Linked DNA regions of Homo sapiens: regions 1, 3, 4 and 5 are each linked to region 2. The links are contacts of gene promoters, found by promoter capture Hi-C in human tissues and cell types (Jung and others, 2019). All regions are on one chromosome and are shown on one strand. The core of a region is centred on a gene start or on the middle of the fragment in contact, and the rest is flanking DNA. Distances in the headings are between cores, read along the strand shown. Region 1 overlaps LOC122539214 (Zinc finger protein LOC122539214). Region 2 holds the start of ERVV-1 (endogenous retrovirus group V member 1, envelope). Region 3 overlaps ZNF525 (zinc finger protein 525). Region 4 overlaps ZNF845 (zinc finger protein 845). Region 5 overlaps ZNF813 (zinc finger protein 813).

Region 1 (2,700 bases), core at 136-2,635, 360 kb before region 2:
GCAATGCTTGTAGCATTACTGAGGACTTTGTGAGAATCATTACATTTGTAAAGTTTCCCTATACCATGGATTGCTTGATGATGAATAAGTGATGACTGCCCACTAAAGGCTTTGCCACACTCATTGCACTTATAAGGATTTTCTCCAGTATGAAGTCTATGATGGCATACAAAGGATGACATATGACTGAAGGTCTTGCCACACTCATTGCACTTGTAAGGTTTCTCTCCACTATGAAGTCTATAATGGTATACAAAGGATGACATATGACTGAAGGTCTTGCCACACTCATTACACCTGTAAGGTTTCTCTCCAGTATGAACTCTCTGATGTTGTGCAAGGTTTGACTGTTGATTAAAAACCTTGCCACATTCATTACACTTGTAAGGTTTCTCTCCAGTATGAATTGCCTTATGAATTAGAAGGGATGAATTTCGAGCAAAGGTCTTGCCACACTCATGACAGTTGTAAGGTTTTTCTCCGGTATGAAGTCTACGATGGCCCACAAGGGATGACTTCTGACTGAAGGTCTTGCCACACTCATTACACTTGTAAGGTTTCTCTCCAGTATGAAGCCTATAATGACATGCAAGGTGTGCTTTTTGATTAAAAACCTTACCACATTCATTACATGTGTAAGGTTTCTCTCCAGTATGAACTCTCTGATGTTGTGCAAGGTATGAATCACGCTGGAAAACCTTGCCACATTCATTACATGTGTAAGGTTTCTCTTCAGTATGAACTCTGTTATGGCGTGAAAGGCATGAATTATGCCTAAAAGCTTTGTCACAAACCTTACATTTGTATGGTTTCTCTCCAGTATGAATTCGCCTATGTGTTTCAAGTTGTGATCTGCAACTGTAAACTTTGTCACATCCTTCACATTTGTAAGGTTTCTCTCCAGTATGACGTCTACGATGCCCTACAAGGGATGACGTCTGACTGAAGGTCTTACCACACTCATTACACTTGTAAGGTTTTTCTCCAGTATGAAGTCTATGATGGCGTGTAAGAGATGACTTGTGACCGAAGGTCTTGGAACACTCATTACACTTGTAAGGTTTTTCTCCAGTATGAACTCTATGGTGCCATGCAAGGTATTGCTTTTGATGAAACACTTTGCCACATACATCACATTTATATTGTTTCTCTCCTGAATGGGTTACATGATGTCTTCTTAAATGTGAGCTATAATTAAAGGCTTTGCCACACTCATTACATTGGAAAGGTTTTTCTCTCATGTGTTCTTCCTGGATTTGTGTCAATAATGAAGAATGGAGAAAGTTCTTCCCATACCTATTAGAAATATGGGTTTTGAGCCTACAAGAAATTCTTTGGGATGTTGAAACCAAGGAAGCATTGTTGATAGACTTCTCCACTTGATTATCAATTTTCCCTTCAGTCTGAAATTCGTGCAGTTCAGGCAGATGTGAATAAAAGCTTGATCCAAGCTGATCTTTAATAGGCTTGTTTCCAGCATGCCTTTGATCACGTCGGTCTGTACTACCAGTCAACTTTTTGATTTTTGTCATGGGTGCTTCATGGCCATTTCTTTTAATTTCTTGCCACTGAAACTCAAAGTCATGAATATCTTTCTTGATTTCTGGGAAGCAAAAATCTCCAATGTGATGACTTTTATGTCTTTGCAATGTCCCTGTGTGGATCACTTCTCCTGTATTACCGTGCCCTGTTGATGAGAACTCCGTCATGGATTTTAAAGAGCTATCTAAAAAATATAAAGACCAATAGGTTTCCAATTAAGTACAGATGGTAAATAATATTTAATACTGAAATGTGTTAATATTACACAAAAAGCAATACTTATTTTAAAATTCCCAAATATGATCTTCAAAGTTTAAGAACACCCTGTCTCTATTAAAAATACAAAAATTAGCCAGGCATGGTGGTGGATGCCTGTAATCCCAGCTACTCAGGACGCTGAGGCAGGAGAATTTCTTGAACCTAGGAGGCAGAGATTGCAGTGAACAGAGATCACATCATTGCACTCCAGCCTGGGCAACAAGAGCAAAATTCCATGTCAAACAGAGTTCAGTCAAGAGCCTCATATATATGATGCAGTAAGCCTGAATGATGTCCTCCCTAAGAGGAATTTCTACAGCAGTGACTGCTGTTTAGAGAACATGATCATTAGTTTATGTGATGATCACTGTCACAGTACCAGTGAGAGATGCTTCTGTGATGCTCCTTAAAAACCAGAACAAAAGGCCAAGGGTGGTGGCTCAGGTTTGTAATCCCAACACTTGGCTAGAGGCTGAGGTGGGCAGATTGCTTGAGACAAGGAGTTTGAGACCAGCCTGGCCAACATGGTGATTCCCCATCTCTAATAAAAATACAAAAATTAGCAAGGCATGGTGACTTGCATCTGTAATTCCAGTTAGGTTGGGAGGCTGAGGTATGAGAATTGCTTGAATGCAGGAGGCGGAGGTTGCAATGAGCTGAGATCACAACAGTGCACTCCAGCCTGAGCAAGAGAGGGAGACTCTGTCTCAAAAAACAAAACAAAACAAAAGCAGAATCACAGCTGGAAACACTTGTCAGTCACTGTCATGCTTTCTAGCTCATCTCCTGGGCCACCCTGACAATTCTGCTCAGGGCTACCAGGGGCATCTCTGCTTAGAGCAGGATGACGTTCAATTCTATTAGTCAAAGTGTTCATGAATGTTCTGTTTTTATGTAAAA
Region 2 (2,700 bases), core at 25-2,524:
GCCAGAGCCAATGCAGCTCCCTGTCCTGCTTAGTTGAGCCAGTTCAGCATTGGGAAGCTTACCCAGGGAAAGACTGATGGATGTATTTCACTCAATTGCCAGCCTGTAGAGGCTATAAATGCCTTCTGGTGTTTGTGGACACCTTTATTGGGTGGGTTAAAGCCTTTCCTACAAGAACAGAAAAGGCCCAGGAAGTAGCCAAGGTACTTCTTAAAAAAAAAAAAAAAATCATCCCGGCCGGGCGTGGTGGCTCACTTCTGTAATCTCAGCACTTTGGGAGGCCGAGGCAGGCGGATCACGAGGTCAGAGAATTGAGACCATCCTGGCTAACACAGTGAAATCCTGTCTCTACTAAAAAAGAGAAAAAATTAGGTGGGTGTGGTAGCGGGCGCCTATAGTCCCAGCTACTCAGGAGGCTGAGGCAGAAGAATGGTGTGAACCCGGGAGGTGGAGCTTGTGGTGAGCTGAGATTGTGCCACTGCACTCCAGCCTGGACAACAGAGCGAGACTCCGTCTCAAAAACAAAAAGAAAAAAAAAATCACCCCTCAGTGTGGGTTTAGTTTGTGTTTACAAAGTGACAACGGCCCAGTTTTTATTTCACGCACCCTTTAATTAGTGACAAAAGCCCTAGAAATAAAGTACTCCTAGCACTCCTGGAGAACACATTCCTCTGGCAAGGTAGAAAGCACTAATCAAACTATTAAAAGGACCCTGAACAAAGTGTGCCAGGAAACCTCCTCACCATGGTTAGAACTCCTGTCCGTAGCACTGTTCTGAGCATGACCCCTAATATTACTTATGCCTTCCTACATGCAGACCTAATGTTAGATCCAGAAGTTACCCAATTAATCAAATACATAACATCACTGGCCCAATTTCAACAAGCCATCCAGGAGTTTGAGCAAAAGGTACTGCCTGCCACTGACCCCTCCAGTAATCAACCCTTATACTAGCCAGGGTCACAAGTCCTCATCAAAACCTGGAGAGATGGGTCACCCAGGTCTCAACTAGCCTGGGTCTCTCCTTTATGGAAAGGCCCCTTTATTACTTTCTACCCCGACAGCTATCAAAGTTTCTGGAATCTCTAGTTGGATACATCACTCCTGAGTAAAACTGTGAGAAGGTCCCGAAGAACCAACAACAGAATCAGCATCTGAGTAGTCTCATGAGCCAGCCACTGGAGAGCTTCCAATTCCTCTTCAAGTGAAAAGATAAGTAAAGCCTTCTCTCCTTTCACCTCAAAAAAAGGTCTCTCAGTACGGGGAATCTTGGTTGCGGTGGCATCGGTTCTTCTCCTTATTTTGACCCACACTGGCATGCCACCTGAAGTCCCGATAACAGCCTGATTTCTCACTAAACACTCCATCGAACCATTTCATTATTTGTCTCTCCTATTTTCAGCACTTTCCTTTTGCTTTCACAAAGCTTAAGGGAGAATCAGCTATGACAGAGAAATTCCTTTTCCTTTATCTTTCCCTCCTTCCCATGCCCCTACTCTCACAGGCACAGTGGAATGAAAATTCCCTTGTCAGTTTTTCCAAAATAATTGCTTCGGGAAACCATCTAAGCAACTGTTGGATCTGCCACAACTTCATCACCAGGTCCTCATCTTACCAATATATTTTGGTAAGAAATTTTTCTTTAAACCTAACATTTGGTTCAGGAATCCCTGAAGGCCAACATAAATCTGTTCCGCTCCAGGTTTCGCTTGCTAACTCAGCGCACCAAGTCCCCTGCCTGGATCTCACTCCACCTTTCAATCAAAGCTCTAAAACTTCTTTCTATTTCTACAACTGCTCTTCTCTAAACCAAACCTGTTGTCCATGCCCTGAAGGACACTGTGACAGGAAGAACACCTCTGAGGAGGGATTCCCCAGTCCCACCATCCATCCCATGAGCTTCTCCCCAGCAGGCTGCCACCCTAACTTGACTCACTGGTGTCCAGCTAAACAAATGAACGATTATCGAGACAAGTCACCCCAAAACCGCTGTGCAGCTTGGGAAGGAAAAGAGCTAATCACATGGAGGGTTCTATATTTGCTTCCCAAGGCACACACTGTCCCCACATGGCCAAAATCTACTGTTCCCCTGGGAGGGCCTCTATCCCCTGCATGCAATCAAACTATTCCAGCAGGGTGGAAATCGCAGTTACACAAGTGGTTCGACAGCCACATCCCCCGGTGGGCCTGTACCCCTCCTGGCTATGTATTTTTATGTGGGCCACAAAAAAATAAACTGCCCTTTGATGGAAGTCCTAAGATAACTTATTCAACCCCCCCTGTGGCAAACCTCTACACTTGCATTAATAACATCCAACATACGGGAGAATGTGCTGTGGGACTTTTGGGACCACGGGGGATAGGTGTGACCATTTATAACACCACCCAACCCAGACAGAAAAGAGCTCTGGGTCTAATACTGGCAGGGATGGGTGCGGCCATAGGAATGATCGCCCCATGGGGAGGGTTCACTTATCATGATGTCACCCTCAGAAATCTCTCCAGACAAATAGACAACATAGCTAAGAGTACCAGAGATAGCATCTCTAAACTCAAGGCCTCCATAGATTCTCTAGCAAATGTAGTCATGAACAACAGATTGGCCTTAGATTACCTCTTAGCAGAGCAGGGTGGAGTCTGTGCAGTGATCAGTAAATCCTGTTGCATTTATGTCAATAACAGTGGGGCGATAGAGGAGGA
Region 3 (2,700 bases), core at 143-2,642, 370 kb after region 2:
TATTTCAGTTCTTATATTGTGTGCTGGTGGTAAGTAGAAGTTGTGCTTTTTTCTTAACAGGGAATTGTTTAGAATTCTGCAGTTTGTATAAATGTACTTATGATTTGCTTGCTGGTTTTATGCGTTACAGTTATTTTACCAATTCATTTTTATGATTTTACATAAAGCTTTTCGGTATGTGGTATGCAATATAACTGACACAGTTTACTAGTTAATGTCACAAAGTGCCAGCGGGTGCTGTGGCTCACGCCTGCAATCCCAGGACTTTGGGAGGCTGAGGCGGGTGGATCACTTGAGGTCAAAAGTTCAAGGCCAGCCTGGCCAATATGATGTAACCCTATCTCTACTAAAAATACAAAAATTAGCCAAGCATGCTGGCATGTGCCTGTAATCCCATGTACTCAGGAGGCTGAGGCAGGAGAATGGCTTGAACCCAAAAGGTGGAGGTTGCAGTGAGCTGAGATCAGGCCATTGCCCTCCAGCCTGTTGTGACACAGTGAAACATTGTCTCAAAAATACAAAAATAAAAAAAAAATTTTAAATGTTACAATATGCCTTTTCTGCATGGATATAGGTAATTTTATGACAGTTATTCAGAAAAATATTTTTTTTTTTTTGAGATGGAGTCTCACTTTGTCATCCAGGCTGAAGTACAGTGGTGCGATCTCGGCTCACTGCAACCTCTGCCTCTTGGGTTCAAGCAATTCTTGTACCTCACCCTTGCGAGTAGCTGGGAGTACAGACGTGCACCACCATGCCTTGCTAAATTTTGTAAACTTTTCTTATCTTCTCAGTGCTATGATTATTTAACAATACAGAATTTCCATTGATTTTGGTTATCCTTACATGAGCTTGCTGTGGATTATTTACCAGTATATTATATTGTGTGGTCCTTTAGTATTTATTTGTATACAGTAAGTATGCTGTAAATATGAAGAATATATACTTTTCATTGATGTGACAGTGATATGTCTTTTGCAAACTGTTAGACACTTTAGGGTCACAGTGGAAAAATACTCCTTATTTTAGGCTTACACATGTTTGTGCCCTTCAGTGTTTTGTCATGATATTGGAAATAAGCTTTCATAATAATAATTTGAAGCACATGTAATCGCCCTTTATTTATTAAAGAATCTTACGATTTTGTGTTCCTAAACTTTGAAGATCATGTTTGGGAAGTTTAAAATCAGTATTGTCTTTTGTGTACCTATTAGTGTTTATATTTTGTAGGTATCTCTTCCAAATGCACAATGAAGGAGTTCTCATCAACAGCACAAGGCAATACAGAAGTGATCCACACAGGGACATTGCAAAGACATGAACGTCATCACATTGGAGATTTTTCCTTCCAGGAAATTGAGAAAGATATTCATAACTTTGAGTTTCAGTGGCAAGAAGATGAAAGAAATGGCCATGAAGCACCCATGACAAAAATCAAAAAATTGATGGGTAGTACAGAGCAATATGATCACAGGCATGCTGGAAACAAGCCTATTAAATATCAGCTTGGATCAAGCTTTCATTCACATCTGTCTGAACTCCACATATTTCAGCCCAAAGGGAAAATTAATAATCAAGTGGAGAAGTCTATCAACGATGCTTCCTCGGTTTCAACAGCCCAAAGAATTTCTTGTAGGCCCAAAACCCATATATCTAATAACTATGGGGATAATTTTCTGAATTATTCATTACTCACACAAAGACAGGAAGTACGCATGAGAGAAAAATCTTTCCAATGTATTGAGAGTGGCAAAGCCTTTAATTATAGCTCACTCTTAAGGAAACATCAGATTATTCATCTAGGAGAGAAACAATATAAATGTGATGTATGTGACAAGGTCTTTATTCGGAAGCGATACCTTGCACGCCATCGTAGATGTCACACTGGTGAGAAACCTTACAAGTGTAATGAGTGTGGCAAGTCCTTCAGTCAGATGTCATCCCTTACATATCATCATCGACTTCATACTGGAGAGAAACCTTACAAATGTGAAGAATGTGACAAAGCTTTCAGACACAATTCAGCCCTTCAAAGACATAGGAGAATTCATACTGGAGAGAAACCACATAAGTGTAATGAGTGTGGCAAGACCTTTAGTCAGAAGTCATACCTTGCATGCCATCGTAGCATTCATACTGGAAAGAAACCTTACGAATGTGAAGAATGTGACAAAGCTTTCAGTTTCAAATCAAACCTTGAAAGTCATAGGATAACTCATACTGGAGAGAAACCATACAAGTGTAATGATTGTGGCAAGACCTTCAGTCATATGTCAACCCTTACATGCCATCGTAGACTTCATACTGGAGAGAAACCTTACAAGTGTGAAGAATGTGATGAAGCTTTCCGTTTCAAATCAAGTCTTGAAAGACATAGGAGAATTCATAATGGAGAGAAACTGTACAAATGTAATGAGTGTGGCAAGACCTTCAGTCAGGAGTTATCCCTTACCTGCCATTGTAGACTTCATAGTGGAGAGAAACCTTGCAAGTGTGGAGAATGTGACAAGGCTTACAGTTTCAAATAAAATCTTGAAATACGTCAGAAAATTCATACTGGAGAGAAATGTTATAAGTGTAATGATTGTGGCAAGATCTTCAGTCATACGTCATCCATTGTATACCATCATAAATTTCATAGTGGAGAGAAACCTTACAAATGTGAAGAATGTGATGAAGCTTTCAGTTTCAAATCAAACC
Region 4 (2,700 bases), core at 25-2,524, 340 kb after region 2:
CGTCACAATTCAGTCCTTGTAATTCATAAGACAATTCATACTGGAGAGAAACCTTACAAGTGTAATGAATGTGGCAAGGTTTTTAATCGAAAAGCAAAACTTGCACGTCATCATAGAATTCATACTGGAAAGAAACATTAGAAATATGAAGAATGTGACAAAGTTTACAGTTGTAAATCAAGTCTTGAAAGACAGGAGAATTCATACTGGAGAGAAAGCTTACAAATGTAAGAGTTTGTGACAAGAATCTTGGGCGTGATTCACACCTGGCCCAACAAACTAGAAGTCACACTGGAGAGAAACCTTACAAGTGTACTGAGTGTGGCAAAGCCTTTAGTGGGCAGTCAACACTTATTCACCATCAGGCAATCCATGGTATAGGGAAACTTTACTAATGTAATGATTATCACAAAGTCTTCAGTAACACTACAACCGTTTCAAATCATTGGAGAATCCATAATGAGAGATTTTGAAAGTGTAATAAATGTGGCAAATTTTTCAGACATTGTTCATACCTTGCAGTTCATCGGTGAACTCATGCTGGAGAGAAACCTTACAAATGTCATGATTGTGGCAAGGTCTTCAGTCTAGCTTCATCTTATGCAAAACAGGAGACTTCATACAGGAGACAAACTTCACAAGTATGATGATTGCAGCAAAGCCTTTACTTCACGTTCACACCTAATTAGACATCAGAGAATCCATACTGGACAGAAATCTTACAAATGTCATCAGTGTGGCAAGGTCTTCAGTCTGAGATCACCCCTTAAGGAACATCAGAAAATTCATTTTTGAGATGATTGTTCCAAATGCAATGAGTATAGCAAACCATCAAGCATTAATTGGCATTAGAGTCAATTCAGCATTGACTTGAGTTTGAATTGACTTAACATTGAGTTCAAGCATTAATTGACATTAAAGTGTTTATGTTAAGAAGATTGGGCCAGGCGGGGTGGCTCACGCCTGTAATCCCAGCACTTTGGGAGGCCAAGACCAATAGATCACTTGAGGTCAGGAGTTTGAGACCAGACTGGCCAACAGACATGAGTCACTTTTCCCACCCTGTATTTTGTTTCTTTAATAAAAACTGTTACGGGTTTTTATGGGTATCTGTTGAATCTAAATCACATTTGTTTGTATAATCATTCAACAATATTAAGACTTCCAATCCATCAATATGGGTTGTATGTCTATTTAGTTTTTTTGATCAATGTAGATTTCAAGGTACAAGCTTCTCACCTCCTTAATTCAGTTTATTTGTAAGTATTAAGTTTCATAGCAAATTGAAGTGTGTTCATAAGTTTCTTTAAACATTATTTATTGTTAATGTAAGGAAATTCAACTAATTTTGGGTGCTGATTTTGTATTCTGCAAATACATTGAGTGGGTTTATTAGTATCAGTAAAATCTTGGTTGATTCTTTGTGATTTTCTTTCTTTTTTTTTTGAGACAGTCTCACTCTGTTACCCAGGCTCTTTTCTTTTTTTTTGAGAAGGAGTCTCACTCTTGTCACTTGGACTGGAGTACAATGGCACGATCTTGGCTCACTGCAGCCTCTGCCTTTCGGGTTTAAGTGATTCTCCTGCCTACTAACTGAGATTACAGGTGCCTGCCACCATGTCCGTATAATTTTTTTGTATTTTTAGTAGAGACGGGGTTTCACCATGTTGACCAGGTTTTTCTTGAACTCCTGACTTCAGGTGATCCGCCCCCATCAGCATCCCAAAGTTCTGGGATTACAGGTGTGAGCCACCGCACCCAGCCAGTGATTTTCTATATAGAATGTCGTATCATCTACAAGGAAATAATTTTTTTTTTTGAGACAATGTCTCTCTCTGTCGCCAGGCTAGAGTGCCGTGGAATGATCTTTGCTCACTGCAACCTCTGTCTCCCACGTCCAAGCAATTCTGTCTCAGCCTCCTGAGTAGCTGGGACTACAGGCGCATGTCACCACACCTAGCTAATTTATTTATTTTTTTTATTTTAGTAAAGACGGGGTTTCACCATGTTGGCCCAGATGGTGGGCCAACATGGTGAGTACCTTGAAGAGAACTTGAAAGAATATGTTAGATCGCCTAACCTCATTATCCGCCCACTTCGGACTTGCAAATTGCTGGGATTATGGGTGTGAGCCATGAGCCCGGCCCCAACAAATGTAATTTTACTTCTGTCTTTCTGATTTGGATGAGTTTTATTTCTTTTGCTATTTAATTGCTCTGCCTAGGACAGCCAGTATTTATTGAATATCAGGGGTGAGAGCATTCTTGCATCATGTGATATCCTACAGGAAAACCATTCCATTTTCCTTCATTGGTTATTTCAGCTGTGGTCATTTCATGGATGATTTTTATATTTTTGAGGTAAAACTCTACCTATATTGTTTAGGATTTTTACGAAGAATGAATATTGAGTTCTGTGAAATGCTTTTTCTCTATCTATTGAGATAATGTGTTTTTTATCTGTCATTCTGTGCAAGTGTGTATCCCATTGATTTGAGTATGTTGAACCATCCTTGCATCCCATGAATAGGTAGCACTTGGATGTTTACAATCCCTTTTTATATCCTCTTGAATACAGTTTGCTAGTATAAGGGTCTTCAAGAAGTTCATGGAAAAATACATATTATGAAAAATTTGTGCATAAATTTCACACTTTTTGTACCAAAATAAACCAGTATAAACTTGTTATAACGTCTGAACA
Region 5 (2,700 bases), core at 15-2,514, 480 kb after region 2:
CACCTCCTTAGACATCAGAGAATGCACACTGGACGGAAATCTTACAAATGTCATCAGTGTGGCAAGGTTTTCAGTCTGACTTCACTCCTTGCAGAATATCAGAAAATTCATTTTGAGATAATTGTTCCAAATGCAATGAGTAGAGCAAACCATCAAGCAGTAATTGACATTAAAGTGTTTATGTTAAGAGGATTGGGCCAGGTACAGTGTCTCACACCTGTAATCCCAGCACTTTGGGAGGCCAAGGCGGGTAGATCACTTGAGGTCAGGAGTTTCAGATCAGTCTGGCCAACAAACATGAGCCACTTTTCCCAGTTTGCTTTTTGTTCTTTAACAAAAACTGATAGGGATTTTTATGGGTACCGTGTTGAATCTAAATCACATTGGGTTATATAATCATTTAACAATATTAATTTTTCCAATCCATCAATATGGGTTATATGTCTGTATATGTTTTTAATCATATTGATGTATATTTGTAGATTTCAAGGTACAAACTTCTCACCTTTTTACTTTTATTTCTATTTCTTTAAGTTCTCTAGCAAATGGAAGTGTTTTTAAATTTTCTTTTAAAATTGTTTATTGTTACAAACTTCTCATCTTTTTGCTTTTATTCCTAAGTATTTCTTACTTTAAGTTCTCTAGCAAATGGAAGTGTTTTTAAATTTTCTTTTAAAATTGTTTATTGTTAATGTATGGAAATTCAGCTAATTTTTGGTGCTGATATTGTACTGTGCAGATACACTGAATCTGTTTATTACTTCCAGTAGTATTTTGGTTGAGTCTTTGTGATTTTCTACACAGAAGATCATGTCATCTACAAACACATATAATTTTACTTCTTTCTTTCTGATTTGGATGGGTTTGATTTCTTTTGCTATTTCATTGCTCTGGCTAGGACAGCCAGTATTTATTGAATAGAAGGGGTGAGAGCATTCTTCCATCATGTGAGATCCTACAGGAAAATCATTCCATGTTCCCTGCTTCGTTATCTACTCGTTGGTCATTTCATGGATGGCCTTTCTATTGTTGAGGTAAATTTCCTTTTCTGTCTATTTTGTTCAGAATTTCTATGATGAGTGGATTTTGAATTTTGTGAAATACTTTTTCTCCATCTATTGAGATGATGTGGTTTTCATCTTTCATTCTGTTCAAGTGGCATATCACATTGATTTGCTTGACTATGTTGAACCATCCTTGCATCCCAGAAATAAGTGGCACTTGAGTATCTACAGTCCTTTTTACATCCTCTTGAATACAGCTTTTTAGTACAAGGGGTCTTCAAGAAGTTCATGGAAAAATACATATTTTGCATATTATGAGAAAATTGTGTATGAATTTCCCAGTTTTTGCACCAAAATAAACTGGTACGAATCTGTTATGTCTGAACAGGTCCTAGTTTGAGGCACCCAGAAGGATAAGACATGAGTTTTAAAAGAGACTTTCTCTGCCGGGCGCAGTGGCTCATGCCTGTAATCCCAACACTTTGGGAGGCCAAGGTGGGTGGATCACCTGAGATCCAGAGTTCGAGACCAGCCTCACCAACATGGAGAAACAGCATCTCTACTAAAAATACAAAATTAGCCAGGCATGGTGGCAAATGCCTGTAATCCCAGATACTCTGGAGGCTGAGGCAGGAGAATGGCTTGAACCCGGGAGGCAGAGATTGCTGTGAGCCGAGATTGCACCATTGCACTCCAGCCTGGTCAACAAGAGCGAAACTCTGTCTCAAAAAAAAAAAAAAGAAAAGAAAAGAAAAGAGACTCTATCAAAGCAATATAAATCCTGCTAAAATTGAAACAAAAAGGAGCATCAAATTTACAGTGAGACCAGATGCAGTGGCTCAGGCCTGTAATCCCAGCACTTTCAGAGGCCAAGACAGGTGGGTCATGTAAGCCCAGGTATTCAAGACAAGCCTGGGCAACATGGTGAAACCCCCTTGTCTACAAAAAATACAAAAATTAGCTGGGCACGGTAGCACATGCATGCAGGGCCAGCTGCTGTGGAGTCTGTGGTAGGAGGATAGCTCGAGCCTGGGAGGTTGAGGCTGCAGTGAGCTATGATCATGCCACTGCATTCCAGCATGGGTGATGGAGCGAGATACTGGCTCAAAAAAAAAAATACTTCTTGTAAAGTTTGGGTAGAGGAATAATGAAATCATTGATGCTTTATGAAAAGATTATGGAGATGATGCCCAGAAGAAATAAACAGTTTGTAAATGGATAACTTAGTTTGAGTTGGGACAAGACAATGTTGAAGGTGATGCATGGAGTGGCAGGCACACCATCCACATCAGTTTTTTTGTTTGTTTTTGTTGTTGTTGTTTTTTTGAGATGGTGTCTCGCTCTGTCTCCCAGGCTGGAATGCAGTGGTGCAATCTCGGCTCACTGCAACCTCTGCCTCCCGGGTTCAAGTGATTCTCCTGTCTCTGCCTCCTTAGTAGCTGGGACTACAGGCGCGTGCCACCACATCAGCTAATTTTTGTATTTTTAGTAAGACGGGGTTTCACCATGTTGGCAAGGCTGGTCTTGAACTCCTGACCTCACGATCTGCCCACCTCAGCCTCCCAAAGTGTGGAGATTACAGGCATGAGCCACCATGCCCCTTGCACATCAGTTTTACAAAAAAATTTATCTTGTTTGTGCCACAATGAAGAGGACTGACAGGTAACAGCAGAAACAATAGTCAGGAGTTTGAGAA

The links. Contacts are between HindIII fragments. The study calls those that stand out against the background at their distance.
Region 1: a contact is called between a fragment that was not itself captured here and the fragment with the promoter of ERVV-1 in region 2, in 2 of the 25 tissues and cell types used here (dorsolateral prefrontal cortex and spleen).
Region 3: a contact is called between a fragment that was not itself captured here and the fragment with the promoter of ERVV-1 in region 2, in 7 of the 25 tissues and cell types used here (bladder, dorsolateral prefrontal cortex, heart left ventricle and 4 more).
Region 4: a contact is called between a fragment that was not itself captured here and the fragment with the promoter of ERVV-1 in region 2, in 4 of the 25 tissues and cell types used here (bladder, dorsolateral prefrontal cortex, mesenchymal stem cells and 1 more).
Region 5: a contact is called between a fragment that was not itself captured here and the fragment with the promoter of ERVV-1 in region 2, in 4 of the 25 tissues and cell types used here (dorsolateral prefrontal cortex, mesenchymal stem cells, pancreas and 1 more).

What each region holds. Positions count from the first base shown.
Region 1 is chr19:52,652,678-52,655,377 of GRCh38, forward strand. LOC122539214 (Zinc finger protein LOC122539214) reads right to left here. Exons shown (of 4, transcript NM_001396016.1): 4 at 1-1,726. It also overlaps a transcript of ZNF83 not described here. Among named protein-coding and RNA genes, the nearest start is that of ZNF83, 16 kb to the left of the region's middle. The HindIII fragment of the contact is 5,670 bases long and covers 1-2,700 here.
Region 2 is chr19:53,012,647-53,015,346 of GRCh38, forward strand. ERVV-1 (endogenous retrovirus group V member 1, envelope) reads left to right here and starts at 1,275. Exons shown (of 1, transcript NM_152473.3): 1 at 1,275-2,700. The coding sequence starts at 1,445. All of the region lies in intron 1 of LOC124904758 (a long non-coding RNA gene), which reads right to left. The HindIII fragment of the contact is 3,820 bases long and covers 1-2,283 here.
Region 3 is chr19:53,379,492-53,382,191 of GRCh38, forward strand. ZNF525 (zinc finger protein 525) reads left to right here. Exons shown (of 4, transcript NM_001348156.2): 4 at 1,231-2,700. The coding sequence ends at 2,528. Among named protein-coding and RNA genes, the nearest start is that of ZNF765, 14 kb to the right of the region's middle. The HindIII fragment of the contact is 5,110 bases long and covers 1-2,700 here.
Region 4 is chr19:53,353,448-53,356,147 of GRCh38, forward strand. ZNF845 (zinc finger protein 845) reads left to right here. Exons shown (of 4, transcript NM_138374.3): 4 at 1-2,700. The coding sequence ends at 141. It also overlaps the pseudogene LOC107987264. Among named protein-coding and RNA genes, the nearest start is that of ZNF525, 11 kb to the right of the region's middle. The HindIII fragment of the contact is 6,579 bases long and covers 1-2,700 here.
Region 5 is chr19:53,492,914-53,495,613 of GRCh38, forward strand. It overlaps ZNF813 (zinc finger protein 813), which reads left to right. Exons shown (of 4, transcript NM_001004301.4): 4 at 1-2,700. Among named protein-coding and RNA genes, the nearest start is that of ZNF813, 27 kb to the left of the region's middle. RefSeq lists an enhancer at 1-369. The HindIII fragment of the contact is 8,734 bases long and covers 1-2,700 here.